5 separate regions of the Homo sapiens genome follow, and all the other regions are linked to region 1. Evidence: promoter capture Hi-C in 16 types of primary human blood cells and fetal thymus (Javierre and others, 2016). All regions are on one chromosome and are shown on one strand. The core of a region is centred on a gene start or on the middle of the fragment in contact, and the rest is flanking DNA. Distances in the headings are between cores, read along the strand shown. Region 1 holds the start of EDDM3B (epididymal protein 3B). Region 2 overlaps CCNB1IP1 (cyclin B1 interacting protein 1). Region 3 has its middle 15 kb from the start of RNASE10. Region 4 has its middle 6.6 kb from the start of RNASE8. Region 5 has its middle 18 kb from the start of PARP2.

What was found. The method cuts DNA at HindIII sites, captures the fragments that hold promoters and counts their contacts. A CHiCAGO score of 5 or more calls a contact.
Region 2: a fragment that was not itself captured here is called in contact with the fragment with the promoter of EDDM3B in region 1 in 1 of 17 cell types (neutrophils); the score reaches 5.3 in neutrophils.
Region 3: a fragment that was not itself captured here is called in contact with the fragment with the promoter of EDDM3B in region 1 in 1 of 17 cell types (M2 macrophages); the score reaches 5.0 in M2 macrophages.
Region 4: a fragment that was not itself captured here is called in contact with the fragment with the promoter of EDDM3B in region 1 in 1 of 17 cell types (M1 macrophages); the score reaches 5.1 in M1 macrophages.
Region 5: a fragment that was not itself captured here is called in contact with the fragment with the promoter of EDDM3B in region 1 in 1 of 17 cell types (total B cells); the score reaches 5.9 in total B cells.

The regions. Positions count from the first base shown.
Region 1 is chr14:20,767,099-20,769,798 of GRCh38, reverse strand. EDDM3B (epididymal protein 3B) reads right to left here and starts at 1,395. Exons shown (of 2, transcript NM_022360.5): 1 at 1,293-1,395. All of the region lies in intron 1 of LOC107984671 (a long non-coding RNA gene), which reads left to right. RefSeq lists an enhancer at 1,408-1,687. The HindIII fragment of the contact is 10,803 bases long and covers 1-2,700 here.
Region 2 is chr14:20,314,159-20,316,858 of GRCh38, reverse strand. It overlaps CCNB1IP1 (cyclin B1 interacting protein 1), which reads left to right. Exons shown (of 7, transcript NM_021178.5): 5 at 299-632. The coding sequence starts at 336. Among named protein-coding and RNA genes, the nearest start is that of SNORA79B, 7.8 kb to the left of the region's middle. The HindIII fragment of the contact is 4,318 bases long and covers 1-2,700 here.
Region 3 is chr14:20,488,708-20,491,407 of GRCh38, reverse strand. No RefSeq gene overlaps it. Among named protein-coding and RNA genes, the nearest start is that of RNASE10, 15 kb to the left of the region's middle. The HindIII fragment of the contact is 5,077 bases long and covers 1-2,700 here.
Region 4 is chr14:21,049,878-21,052,577 of GRCh38, reverse strand. It overlaps a transcript of NDRG2 not described here. Among named protein-coding and RNA genes, the nearest start is that of RNASE8, 6.6 kb to the left of the region's middle. The HindIII fragment of the contact is 1,176 bases long and covers 771-1,946 here.
Region 5 is chr14:20,360,601-20,363,300 of GRCh38, reverse strand. No RefSeq gene overlaps it. Among named protein-coding and RNA genes, the nearest start is that of PARP2, 18 kb to the right of the region's middle. The HindIII fragment of the contact is 272 bases long and covers 1,312-1,583 here.

The DNA of each region.
Region 1 (2,700 bases), core at 146-2,645:
GATCATGTGTCCAAAAGAGAATGATATTTTAAGGTTTATGTCCTTGAAGTGGAAAGGGTTGTCAGATTTTAGGGAAATGTAGAAAATGAGTAACTACTTGGGAAGTGGTTCCTAGGTAGGAAGGCTTCGATTCGCTAAAATGACAGCCTAGCCTGCAATTACTTCTTGCCTGCTTCTCCAATTACTTAATGATGCTTCTCCAATCTTGACTTCCTTATAACACTTTCTCCAAAGCCTGAGTGGAACGTATGTTCATTACTAACTACCCATATTCCTTCTCAGGGGTCATTCCCCTAATTATCACTATTACAAATGATCTTGGTTTGTCAGAGCTGCTCCTTGAAAATGTCATCATAAAATAACTCCAGTTTTGAGGTTTTTATTTGTTTATTTATTTTTGAGACAGAGTCTCACTGTGTCACCCAGGCTGGAGTGCAGTGGCACAGTCTTGGCTCACTGCAACCTTCACCTCCAGGGTTCAATAGATTCTCTGTCTCAGCCTCCCACGTAGCTGAGATTATAGGTGCCTGCCACCACACACAGCTAATTTTTGTATTTTTTTTAGTAGAGACAATGTTTCGCCATGTTGGCCAGGCTAGTATCAAAATCCTGGCCTCAAGTAATCTACCCACCTCGGTTTCCCAAAGTGCTGGGATTCTCAGGCATGAGCCACTACACCCAACCAGAATTCCAGATTTGAAATATTCCTGTAATCAATCAAGCACCAAGACTAAAAGAGCCCCCACAGTGGCTTCTGTGGTGATAGCATGGAGTGTGGGGATCTTTTTGAAAGAGTCTACCGTTTAAACTAGTGCTCTGTCCTCATTTACCATGAGAAGTGTTCCCGCCCTTACTGAATCTCTAACCTGATTCACAACTCTGAGCATTGGTGTCCTCAGATGGACTTAATAATAGCTCCCTACAGACCTGCAAGTGTCTAATGAGACGCATGTATTTGAGAGCACTTCTAATGATGTCAAATGTCCACATCAGACACAGAACAAAGGGTCGGTACTTCCTATCTGTGGAACCCTGTCCTGATGATAAAGACCTACAGAGGATAGAAGAGCAGGATGTAAGCGGTTTTAATGCATTGTGTTTGAGAAGACTGGGGGTGAAGGAAGGGAGGGGCAGGGAAAGCCTGTATCAGTGGGACTGAGGCTGACCAGAATTCACACCTTTGTTTTCCATGATTTGGATCCTTCTCCATTGTTTGCTATCTAAAAGTTCAATCAGCCTCCTTTCAGTGCTCCTGGCTGTCCCCCAAACATCCTCAGCAGAGCCCTTCTTACCCTACTCAGACTCCAAGTTCAGGTCACTGGTTGTAGTTGGGATCAGTGTGTGGATCTGAAGAGCAGAGTCTGAGTCCTCCTTTCCTCAGGGCCCTGGAAATCTGCAGCAGTGGAGAAAGGAATAGCAGGGGGAGCTGCAAGGCTCCAGCTGATTGGTAGTGGAGGTGGTGATGGGGAATAGCCTTATTATGTGAACTTGTTCCTGTATCTTCTCATCTGGAACACTTGAGTTTATTCAGACAGTGGCCTCAAGCAAAGGCTACAAACATCAAAGGCTGACTCCAGGGCACAGAAGAAGTGCAAGACCCTAGAGTGAGGTGACCCCAGAAAGGGGTTATCTGGTGCTATCAGTAGACAACGAGAGACCTGGCTTCTGCACTCAATTTCTGACAAAGTTCTGGGAAGTCCCTGGAGGGTTATGCTATGTTACACAGAAACTTCTCTGAAGAAAGCCACTTATAACATTGTGAACTGTGGGACTTTCGTTGAGAGGTGAAAGAGTATCTAGTGAAACTGGTGGCCAGATAGTTATGATTAGGTAGCCAGTATCTGAAGTTTTACTAGGCAGTTTGTTATTGTCGATGAAACGAGTCAGCTGGGTGTGGTGGCTCACGCCTGTAATCCCAGCACTTTGGGAGGCCAAGGCGGGAGGATCACCTGAGGTCAGGAGTTCAAGACCTACCTGGCCGAGGTGGTGAAACCCCATCTCTACTAAAAATACAAAAATTAGCTGGGCGTGGTGGTGGGCACCTGTAATCCCAGCTACTTGGGAGGCCGAGGCAGGTGAATCGCTTGAACCTGGGAGGCAGAGGTTGCAGTGAGCCGAGATCACGCCATTGCACTCCAGCCTGGGCAACAGGAGCAAAACACCATTTCAAAACAAAAGAAAAGAAAAAAAAAAGAGTCAAACTCTGTAAAATATTTGAAGAGATTTATTCTGAGCCAAATATGAGTGACCATGGCCTATGACACAGCTCTCAGGAGGTCCTGAGGACATGTGCCCAAGGTGGTTGGAGCACAGCTGGTTTTATACATTTTAGAGAGGCATGAAACATCAATCAAATACATTTAAGAAATACATTGGTTTGGTCCAGCAAGGCGGGACAACTCAAAGCTGATGGGGAGTGGAGGGCCTCCAGGCCATAGGTGTATTTAAACATTTTCTGGTTGACAACTAGTTTTGTCTAAAGACCTGAGATTGATAGAAAGGGAATATTCAGGTTAAAATAAAGATGGTAGAGACCAATTCTTTCGAAGTCTTATAGTGGCTGCCCTTAGAGACAATAGATGACAAATGTTTCCCTTTCAGATCTTAATTAATATCTTTAGGATTGGAAGGTCTGGAAGAAAAATATTTAGCTATGTTAATAGAGATTCTTTACAGATGCAAATTTTCCCCCACAAAGAA
Region 2 (2,700 bases), core at 183-2,682, 450 kb after region 1:
TGGGATTGTACGCTTGAGCCACTGAGCCTGGCCCACGTATATATTATTTTTGACGTTAGCAAGATCTGTAACCACCTTTGTCTTTACCTTTGTCCTTAAAGCGTTTTTAGAAAACCGGACAAACGAGCACAATTAATATTATTGAGTAACTGAAATCAATATATCAATTATAATAAATACAAGGAATATAATAAAATGTGCAGTATTTTATGATAAAAACGTGCATGTTATATTTCTTTTTTACTTTTATTTTCATTGCAATTTAACTTACTTGGCCTTTTTATTTACCCCTTCTTAGGCCTCTCTTCAGCTTCTGGAGACCTCACTATCCTATTATGTCTTTGTGTGAAGACATGCTGCTTTGTAATTATCGAAAGTGTCGCATCAAACTCTCTGGCTATGCATGGGTCACTGCCTGCTCTCACATCTTCTGTGATCAGCATGGCAGTGGTGAGTTTAGTCGCTCACCAGCTATCTGTCCTGCCTGCAACAGTACCCTTTCTGGAAAGCTAGATATTGTCCGCACAGAACTCAGTCCATCAGAGGAATATAAAGCTATGGTATTGGCAGGACTGCGACCAGAGATCGTGTTGGACATTAGCTCCCGAGCGCTGGCCTTCTGGACATATCAGGTTAGTGCTTAGTCTAGTTTCTCTTGAGCATGTGATTTATGGCATTTGTGGGAACTTCTAGTGTCTTTCCTTCATTGTATTATTATTAATTTTTTATGAGTATATGAGAAACTCTTTTTATTAAATTGTTTTCAAAAGCAATACTGTTTATTGTTGAAAATCAAAAGGAAGAAAATTAAAGCACTCATAATTCCATCACTCAGAGATAACCATTGTTTATATTTTGGGTATACACACACACACACTCACACACTCTCTCTCTCTTCTGTATAAAAGTAAGATAACACACACACTTTTATTGTTAAGAGTTGACAGTATATTATATCTGGTATGAATTTTTCTTCCTTTTGAGACGGGGTTTTCTTGTGTTGCCCAGGCTAGTCTCTAACTCCTGGGTTCAAGCCATTCTCCCGCCTCAGCCTCCTGAGTAGCCTGTGCTTCACTTGGTATGAATATCTTGTTAAATATTTTTTAGTTAACTATTCTATAATCATATTTTAATGGTTATATTGTATCATAATTTATTTCCAAGTTATTAAAATGCTATGATAAGCATTCTTATCAAATACGCATCCTTAACTTTTTCCCTTTATGATTTCTACTTTTAGTATTTCCTTTGAAAGACCTCCCTGTGGATGACTTTAAGCATGTCCTTGAATGTATTGTTATATCTTACATATACACTTATACTTCTTAAGGATGTTTGTCATCTGTCAAGTAACTTTTTATTATATTTTTCTGGGTAAGTTGTTTCTCTTACATGCTCCTCTATTTTTCAACTCCTTTGGTTAAATACCAAATAGTGTTTTTGCTGGCTTATGTGGTGAGAGTATGTTTATTTTTGTAAGCAACTGCCAAATTGTCTTCCAAAGTGGCTATACCATTTTATATTGCCAGCAGCAATGAATGAGAATTCCTGTTGCTCCACATCTTTGCCAGAAGTTGGTATTGTCCATGTTCTGGGTCTTGGCCATTTTAATAGGTGTATAGTGGTGTCTCATTTTAATTTGCATGTCTCTGATGACATATGATGTGGAGCATCTTTTCATATGCTTTTTTGCCTTTTTTTTTTTTTTTTTTTTTTTTTTTTGGTGAGGTGTATATGAAGTTCTTGGTCTTTTTTTTTTTTTTTTTTTGAGACGGAGTCTCGCTTTGTTGTCCAGGCTGGAGTGCAGTGGCGCGATCTCAGCTCACTGCAAGCTCTGCCTCCCGGGTTCACGCCATTCTCCTGCCTCAGCCTCCCGAGTAGCTGGGACTACAGGCGCCCGCCACCACGCCCGGCTAATTTTTTGTATTTTTAGTAGAGGCGGGGTTTCACCGTGTTAGCCAGGATGGTCTCGATCTCCTGACCTCATGATCCGCCCACCTCTGCCTCCCAAAGTGCTGGGATTACAGGCATGAGCCACCGCGCCCGGCCGAGTTCTTGGTCTATTTTTAAATTGTTTTCTTATTGTTGAGTTTTAAGTGTTCTTTTTATCCTTACTGTTGAGTTTGAAGTATTCTTTGATCCTTTATCAGAGCTATCTTTTGCAAATATACTCTCCTGATCTGTGGCTTGTCTTTTTATTCTCTTACAGGGTCTTTCACAGAGCAGAGATTTTTAAGTTTAATGAAGTCCTGCTTATCAATTTTCTCTTTCACGGATTATACCTTTGGTGTATTTTAAAAGTCACTGCCAAATCCAAGATCCACCTGGATTTTACCCTATGTTATCTTCTGGGAGTTTCATAGTTTTGCATTTTATGTTTAAGTCTGTGAACCATTTTGAGTTTATTTTTGTGAAAAGTATAAGATCTGTCTAGATTCATTGGGTCCTCAATTTTTTGCTGGCTATTGGCCAGAGGCTGTTCTTAGTTACTTGTCTCTTGGGCCTTCCTGACATGACTGCTTGCTTCCTCAAAGCCAGCAAGGGAGTGTGTCTCCTAGTAAGACAGACCTTATAGTCTTAGGTAATATACTTATGAAGTGACAACCTGTCACATTTTCTGTAGTATTCTAGTCACAGGTCCTGCCCACGTGCAAGGGGATAGGGAGTTACACAAGGGTGTATGTACCAGGAGACGATAAT
Region 3 (2,700 bases), core at 97-2,596, 280 kb after region 1:
CAGTGGCGCGATCTCGGCTCACTGCAACCTCTGCCTCTTGGGTTCAAGCCATTCTTCCATTCTTCTGCCTCAACCTCCTTAGTAGCTGGGACTACAGGCATGTGCCACCATGCCCTGCTAATTTTTTTGTATTTTAGTGGAGACAGGGTTTCGCCATGTCAGCCAGGATGGTCTCGATCTCCTGACCTCATGATCCCCCCGCCTTGGCCGCCCAAAGCGCTGGGATTACAGACGTGAGCCACCATGCCTGGCCAGCACTATTTTGAGTTCACAGACTAAGTTCACTTGGGATGGCAGATACTGGCTGATATGGTTTGGTCGTGGTAGTGAATAAGTCTCACGAGATCTGATGGTTTTATCAGGGGTTTCCACTTTTGCATCTTCCTCATTCCCTCTTGCCTCCTCCAAGTAAGAAGTGCCTTTCACCCTCTGCCATGATTGTGAGACCTCCCCAGCCATGTGGAACTGTAAGTCAAATTAAACCACCTTTTCTTCCCAGTCTCTGATATGTCTTTATCAGCAACATGAAAACGGACTAATACACTGGCACAGAAGTTAGCACAGAAGAGTTGTCCGTTAAGGTTTGGTGAAAGAGACAGGAAAGGAGAGGAAAGGGAAGGAAGGAAATAGGGAAGAAGGGAGGGAGGGAGCCCTGAGCAATGCGTGGAGGTCAGCAGTTAAGATTAGCTCAGCAGGAAGGAAGCGTCCTGGGCTTCCGTGAGAGGTGACCTCTGACAGGCTTCCAGGTTCCTGTGCTCTTTGAGAGAGTCTTTCTTATCCCCTCACCCAGTATACAGGTACTTTGGCCTGGCCTGGCTGGCCAGATATGCAGTCGAGGTTTTACCTTCAAAGATGACAGCTAGAGAAATAAGAAAAGGGAAAGCATTCAGAATCCATTATAAGACGTACTGATAAGTAACACACATGCAGATCTTATGAATTAATGTGGATCTTCATAGGTAAGATCTTCATAATGGCAATGCTATTATGTAAGAGAATGTCCTTATTCTTAGAGATGCGTGCCAATATATTCAAAAATGGACTGATAGGCAAATTGTCTGCAGCAATTTACTTTCAAATGGCTCAGGAGAAAACAAATGTATGTAGCAGATTATTGACTATTGATGGTTTAGGTGAGAGGTACACTAGTGTTCATTACATGATCCTTTCTACTTTTCCGTAAACTTAACGATATTCCAAGTAAAAAGTTCAGGACAAATGGGCATTAGAAATTTTCTCTAAAATGTATAAAATCCATAGTAAGCACACCTAGCTGGTAACAGCGCTTGCTTATCTTGGCTGAGAGGATAAGGGGTTCTTCCTTGCTTTTTGGTGTGTGTGTGTGTGTGTGTGTGTATGTGTGTGTTTAAGGCCACAGCTAGGACCCTTCTTTCTGCCCCTCTGGCCTCTTTCACTGCACCAAACCACCTGCTCCTGGGCCCCAGCAAAGCAATCCCCCTATGAACAACATTTCTCAACAAGTGTTTCTGTGCCTGTTAGTAGCCCCACACGCTTCTTCCCCACAAACCCTTTCCTCATACACCATTGCCCACACAAAACACACCCCTTTCAAACTGCTGTTCTGGAACAAATGGCTTTCTTCTCTACTGAGTGCACCTCTGCCCAAGGCTTCCACCCACAAACGATTCTTTCTCTAAAGTTCCTGTGTAACCCTACCCCACCCATCCTCTCTGAATCATTGCCTCAATCCCCTGAGGTCTATCTTGCTGCAAATTGAATTCCTGCTGGTGTTGAGCCTGAAAATTTCTCAGTTTGCTAAGCTAAAGAGTTGCCCTTCCGTGATGGATGAAGCAGTGAATTGCTTCCACTTTTGTCTAGGATCGGGCACAGACCTTACTCTTTCTGCCCTAGCACCCCAGCTCCTCAGGTCCCACTTCAGTGGCATCAAGCAGAAGTGGACATGCATGGATAGATATATAATTATTGAAACATGAAAGCACAGTGTAACATCCCACCCTCCTTCTGTAGAACTAGAGTGTTGTGGAACTATAGTTGTTGCTATTCAGGTTTTTGCAGATAAAATATCTTGAAAAGAATTTTAGAGGTCATAAGGTCAACTATTTCTCTCTACAGCTTTGTCAAATATTCCTCTAGCCCCTATTTCAACATTTCAGGAATGTAACGTAACAATGTCTTTTTTGTAGAGCTCTTTTTCTAATATTGAGTGGGCTCTCCTGTCCTAGTCAACTCTCCAAAGTTGCACAGAGTAAATTTGATTCTTCTATATAAATAAGTTTAAAAATAATATAAGGCCAGGTACGTTGGCTCATGCCTGTAATCCCAATACTTTAGGAGGCCGAGGTGCTAGGATCACTTGAGGCCAGGAATTCGAGACCAGCCTGGGCAACATAGCAAGACTTTGTTTCTACAAAAAAAATTTTTTTTAATCAGCTGGGTGTGGTGATATGTGCCTGTAGTCCCAGCTACTCAGGAGTTTGAGGCAAGAGGATTGCTTGAGCCTTGGAGTTCAAGGATGCAGAGAGCTATGATCATACTAGTGCATTCCACAGAGCCTGGGTAACAGATCAAGATTCTATCTCTTAAAAAAATCATAATAATAATATTAATAGAAGACAGTTCTTCACTACCTCCTTTCATCTTCTGTTTACCACCAAACTTAACTACTCTCTGGCTTTTCATTCAACCTAAACGTGATGCCTTTTTACACATTCTCCATCC
Region 4 (2,700 bases), core at 109-2,608, 280 kb before region 1:
TATCCTAATAACCTGATTTTCCTTTTGTCTCCAGCACATGTTTTGCTCTCTTCAGCTTTGCTTCTGTTTCCCTCTTCCCTGCAAGTCCTCCCTCAAATATTATCCATCCTTTAGAACTCATCTTGACCATATGAGTTTGCTCAGGATCACATTTACGAACCTTGCCGTACAAATCCTAACCTCCTTTAGCATTAACTGTTTCATAGTATCACTCATTTGGGTTCTAAATCGTGTACTACCTTGTTTTGCTATTTAACTCTTTCATCCAGTAAGAGCATCCAGTCTTCCCAACTAGACGGTAAACTCGTGGGACAGGAATCAGGTCCTTCCGTGCTTCTCTGTCTTCATAGTGCCAGGCACATGGCTAGCTCACAGGAGCACTCAGTAACCGTGCATTGAACTCAGTCATCACTCTGATCCTCTCAGTCTTCTTACTATTTATAACACAAGGAGTTTCAGTTGAATAATGTCTAAAATGCCCCCTGGTTCTGACACTTGTGTGACACAAGAAAAAACATCAAAGTGCTAGTAAGTAGCCAGCACCTTACTAGTATGAAGGAGAGGCCTAATAGTAGACTCTGAAGGTGCCTTGAAAGAAGGGGAGCAGAGAATAAGCAACTATCTCCCAAAGACCCATTCTTTCAGGATACCCCAGGAGGGCTGAGCGAGGGTGCCAGAGAAGTTTGCCTGGTTTGCTGGCCTGAAGGACAGCAGTACCACGAGGGTCGTCTTTGAACTACAAGTGCCACCCCCATAGGGTTTTTCAAGCTTCAACCTTCAAACAGCCTCCTGGTGGTGACAGACCTGTGGTCTGGGCCCTGGTTTATGGCTCTGAGAAGCAGAGCTCCATCACATGGAATCCAGTGGCCACATTCCTTTTGGGAAGCCCTCCTCTGTTTCCAGTGGCTAACCCTGTCTCCTGCCAGGTCCATTTTTCTTTTCTATGTAGTTCTTTGAGGCCTTCCTATGGTGCCCATTTGCACTATGAGCTTGTCTCTGCGGGAGGACTGTCTCCCTTTGTTCCTCACTCCTGGATTCATCTTCATGAGGGAGAGGATGTAGTCTTCAACCCAACCAGAGCTGAGGCATATGGCTCCCTGGATACGCCAGTTCCCCTCATAGGCCGGCTGCCCTCCTGAGACCTCTGACTTACCACAACAAGGCTGCGTGCAGCCTTCAGCCCTGCTAGGAATGATAGGGGTCATAACGATAAAAACAATCATAGTTAACATTTACTGAGGCTTTTCTATGTTCCAGTCACTGTTCCAAGTGCTCTATGTCTATTTTCTCATTTTTCAGCATGAAAAGGACCTTTCCAATGCCCTAGCCCCATGACTACCCTATCTTCCTCAACCAGTTCTTGAAAAGAAACACTGGTCAGAGACAGAAATCCACAAAGAGCAAGTTAAGGAAAACATTAGAGCCAGTGTACTGCTACCCCAGGTGGAACACAGATGTGTGCAGAGGGTACACAAAGTCACAAGATAAATGTGTTCTTTACAATTTTACTAAAACCATCTTTTTAGGGGATGGGGAGTAATTTAAGGCATTATTTTTACAGAAAATAACTTTGTATGATAGAAAAATTCAAATGAGTTACATTAAATTTTTTTAGCATTTTCACTTTGAAATAATTTAAAACGTATATAAAAGTTTCAGAAAGCATACACAGAGCTCCCCTATATGCTTCACCCAGTTCCCCAATTATTAACATTTCTGAGCTATTTCAGAACAAGTTACAGACATGATGCTCATTACCCCTTAATACTTCAGTGACTATTTCCTAATTACAAGTACTCTCGTGTGCATAACCACAGTACAGCCACCAAAAAGGGGAAATTGACATTGATCCATTATTATTATTACCACAAATGAAATTTAAAGATAGCATATAAAACACTCATATGCACGGCTATTTTATAAATATTAGTTAAGTGAAAGAAGCTTCAGAGAAAGCCCAAGCTCATTGGGCACTACTTTAGGTGTTTTAGTTCATCTTCCTCTGTGGTTACTAGCACTTCAGGGGAAATTCTGGGAAGCATTGCTCTGCAGGTTCTAGTTGACCATGAAGATCCTGTTCTGGATATGCCAAATTCAAGGGTAAAAAGTGGTAACCCTTACCAAAGATAAATGCTTGGGATATCTCAGGCCCACCCGGAGCTCCACCAAACAGGATCTCTGTAATGTTTTCACCCTGGTCCGGAGTAGCAGATGGGAGGTCCAGGCCCTTTTTCTTGTTGCATATCCTTATTTATGTTTCCAGCAGCCAATGGCACGGCCAGGGACATGCTTGACTAGTTTGCCATCAATTCCTCATGTACTGTTTTTTTCCCATCTCAATGATACAATATGAGCATTCAGGTGAAGGTCAGAAATGCAACGTGTCAGGATTACGGGCACTTAATACTCTTTTGGATGAACATGCTTTTGTCTCAAATCCGGGGGTCTGCCCATTTGCAGATTGATTTGCCAGTCCATGTATGATTTGATCTTGAAAGATATCTGGGCTGGGCACAGTGGCTCACCTGTAATCCCAACACTTTGGGAGGCCAAGGCAGGCAGAACATGAGGTCAGGAGTTCAAGAGCAGCCTGACCAACATGGTGAAACCCAGTCTTTACTAAAAATACAAAAATTAGCCGGGCATGGTGGTGCATACCTGTAATCTCAGCTACTCAGGAGGCTGAGGTAGGTGAATCGC
Region 5 (2,700 bases), core at 198-2,697, 410 kb after region 1:
TCATACTGCATCCTATTGGGTGCATATGATATTAACATAACTTATAACTGGTGGTGTTAACCTTGATCACTTTTAAAGTTAAAGTGATATTTGCCAGGTATTTTTGCCATACCTTCTGTTAGAAGCGGGTCACTAAGTCCAGCCCATACTCAAGGGGAAGGAAAGAAAACCTCTAGAAGAGAGAGGTATCAAAGAAATTTATACATCTGGAGGTAGGTTTTTTGAGGCTATGCAAATATCATTTTCCCGACTAATCTTAGCATTCATCCATGGATCTTGACTGCAGTATTATTAGTGCGGTTTTCTAATCATGATTTTCTATTCACCTCCATTTTCCCTGATACTTTCTATTTCCCTTTGACATTTAGTTATTGAAATTATTTCTGATTTCCTTTCTTTTTTTGAGACTGGATCTTGCTCTGTCACCCAGGCTGGAGTGCAGTGACATGATCAGAGCTCACTGTACTCTCAAACTCCTGGGTTCAAGTGATCCCCCTATATATATATATATATTTATATTACAAAAACTTGGTATATTTTTATTGTGATATAATTCATTTTCTTTTTGTTGTTGTTTGTTTGTTTGTCTGGTTTTTTTGAGACAGGGTCTTACTCTGTTGCCCAGGCTGGAGTACAGTGGTGTGATCTTGACTCACTGCAACCTCCGCCTCCTGGGTTCAAGCGATTCTCCTGCTTCAGCCTCCTGACTAGCTGGGATTACAGGCATGTGCCATCACGCCCGGCTAATTTTTGTATTTTTAGTAGAGACAGGGTTTCACCATGTTGGCCGGGCTGGTCTTGAACTCCTGGCCTCAAGTGATTCACCCGCCCTGGCCTCCCAAAATGCTGGGATTACAGGCGTAAGCCACCGTGCCTGGCCTGTAATTCATTTTCACCCTTATGAAGTGTACGGTTCTGTGGTTCTTAGTATATTCACAAATTATGCAACCATTACCGCTAATCCTGGAACATTTTAATCACCCCACCAAGAAACCTTGACTCCATTAGCAATCACTCCCCTCTCTCTTCCTCCAGCCACTGGCAACCACTAATCTACTTTCTGTATCTATGAATTTGCCTAGTCTGGACATTTCGGATAAATGGAATCATATAATATGTGACCTGTGTGGCTTCTTTCAATTAGAATAATGTTTTCAAGGTTCATCCATGCAGTATCAGTACTTCATTCCATTTTATGACGGAATAATATTGCATTGGATGGATATACTTTTTATGTTTTTACAGCTTTATTGAGTTATGATTGGCATGCAATAAACCACACATATTTAAAATACACAATTCGATAAAGCTTGACATATATATATATTAATAAAATTATTACCACGGTCAAGATAGTTAACATATCTAACAGGAATAAACCACATTTTGTTTATCCATTTATTGGTTGATGGATGTTTGGAGTGTTTCTACTTCTTGGCTATTATAAATATTGTTGCTATCAATATGCATGTACAAATTTTTGTGTGAACATTGCTTTTTTATTCTCTTGGTTATACACCTAGTAGTGGAATTGCTAGGTCCTGATAACTCTTATGTTCAACTATTTGAGGAACTGCCAAGCTTTTCCAAAGCAGCTGCACCACTTTATATTCGCACTAGCAATGTGTGAGGATTTTTATTTGTCCATATCTTTGCCGAGATTTGTTAGTCTCAGGCCTTAGCCTCCTGAGTAGCTGGAATTACAGGCAAATGCCACCACGCCTGGCTAATTTTTCATATTTTTGCTAGAGATGGGGTTTCACCATGTTGGCCAGGCTGGTCTCAAACTCCTGACCTCAGATGATCTGCCTGCCTCTGGCTCCCAAAGTGCTGGAATTACAGGCGTGAGCCACCACACCCGGCCAAGAGTTTTAAATTTTGACGAAGACCAACTTATTTCTTTTGCTTGCTTGTGCATTGGTGTCATATTTAAGAAACTGTTGCTTAATCCAAGGTCACAGAGATTTCTCCTTATGCTCTAAGAGCTTTTTAGTTTTAGCTTACATTTAGGCCTTTGATCCATTTTAATTTTTACGTAGTGTGAGATAGTGTTCCTAATTTATTACTTTGCATGTGGATATCCAAGTCGTCCCAGCACCATTTGTTGAAAAGACTATTTTTCCCCCATTGAATGGTCTTGGCACCCTTGTTGAAAACCAATTGACCATATTTGCTTGGGTTTATATCCAGACTCTCAATTCTATCCCATTGATTTCTATGTCTATCCTATGTCATTATCACATTGTCTTGAGTACTGTAGCTTTTTCAAGATTGTTTTTGTTATTCATGATCTTTGTAATTCCTTATGAATTTTTCTTGGCCATTTCTGCAAAAAAAAAGGATAATGGAATTTTAATAGGAATTGTATGGAATCTATAGGTTGCTCTGGGAAGTATTACCATTTTAATAATAAATTTTCCAATCTACGAACACTTGTAGATTGAAAACTACAGAACTGTTGACAGAAATTCAAGACCTAAATAAATAGGTCTTAGCTGGGTATGGTGGCTCAAGTGTGTAATCCCAGCACTTTGGGAGACTGAGGTGGGCCTTGAGGTCAGGAGTTCAAGACCAGCCTGCCAACATGGTGAAACCCCATCTCTACTAAAAATACAAAAATTAGCTGGGTGTGGCGGTGCACACCTGTAATCCCAGCTACTTGGGAGGCTGAGGCCGGAAAATCACTTGAACCCGGGAGGC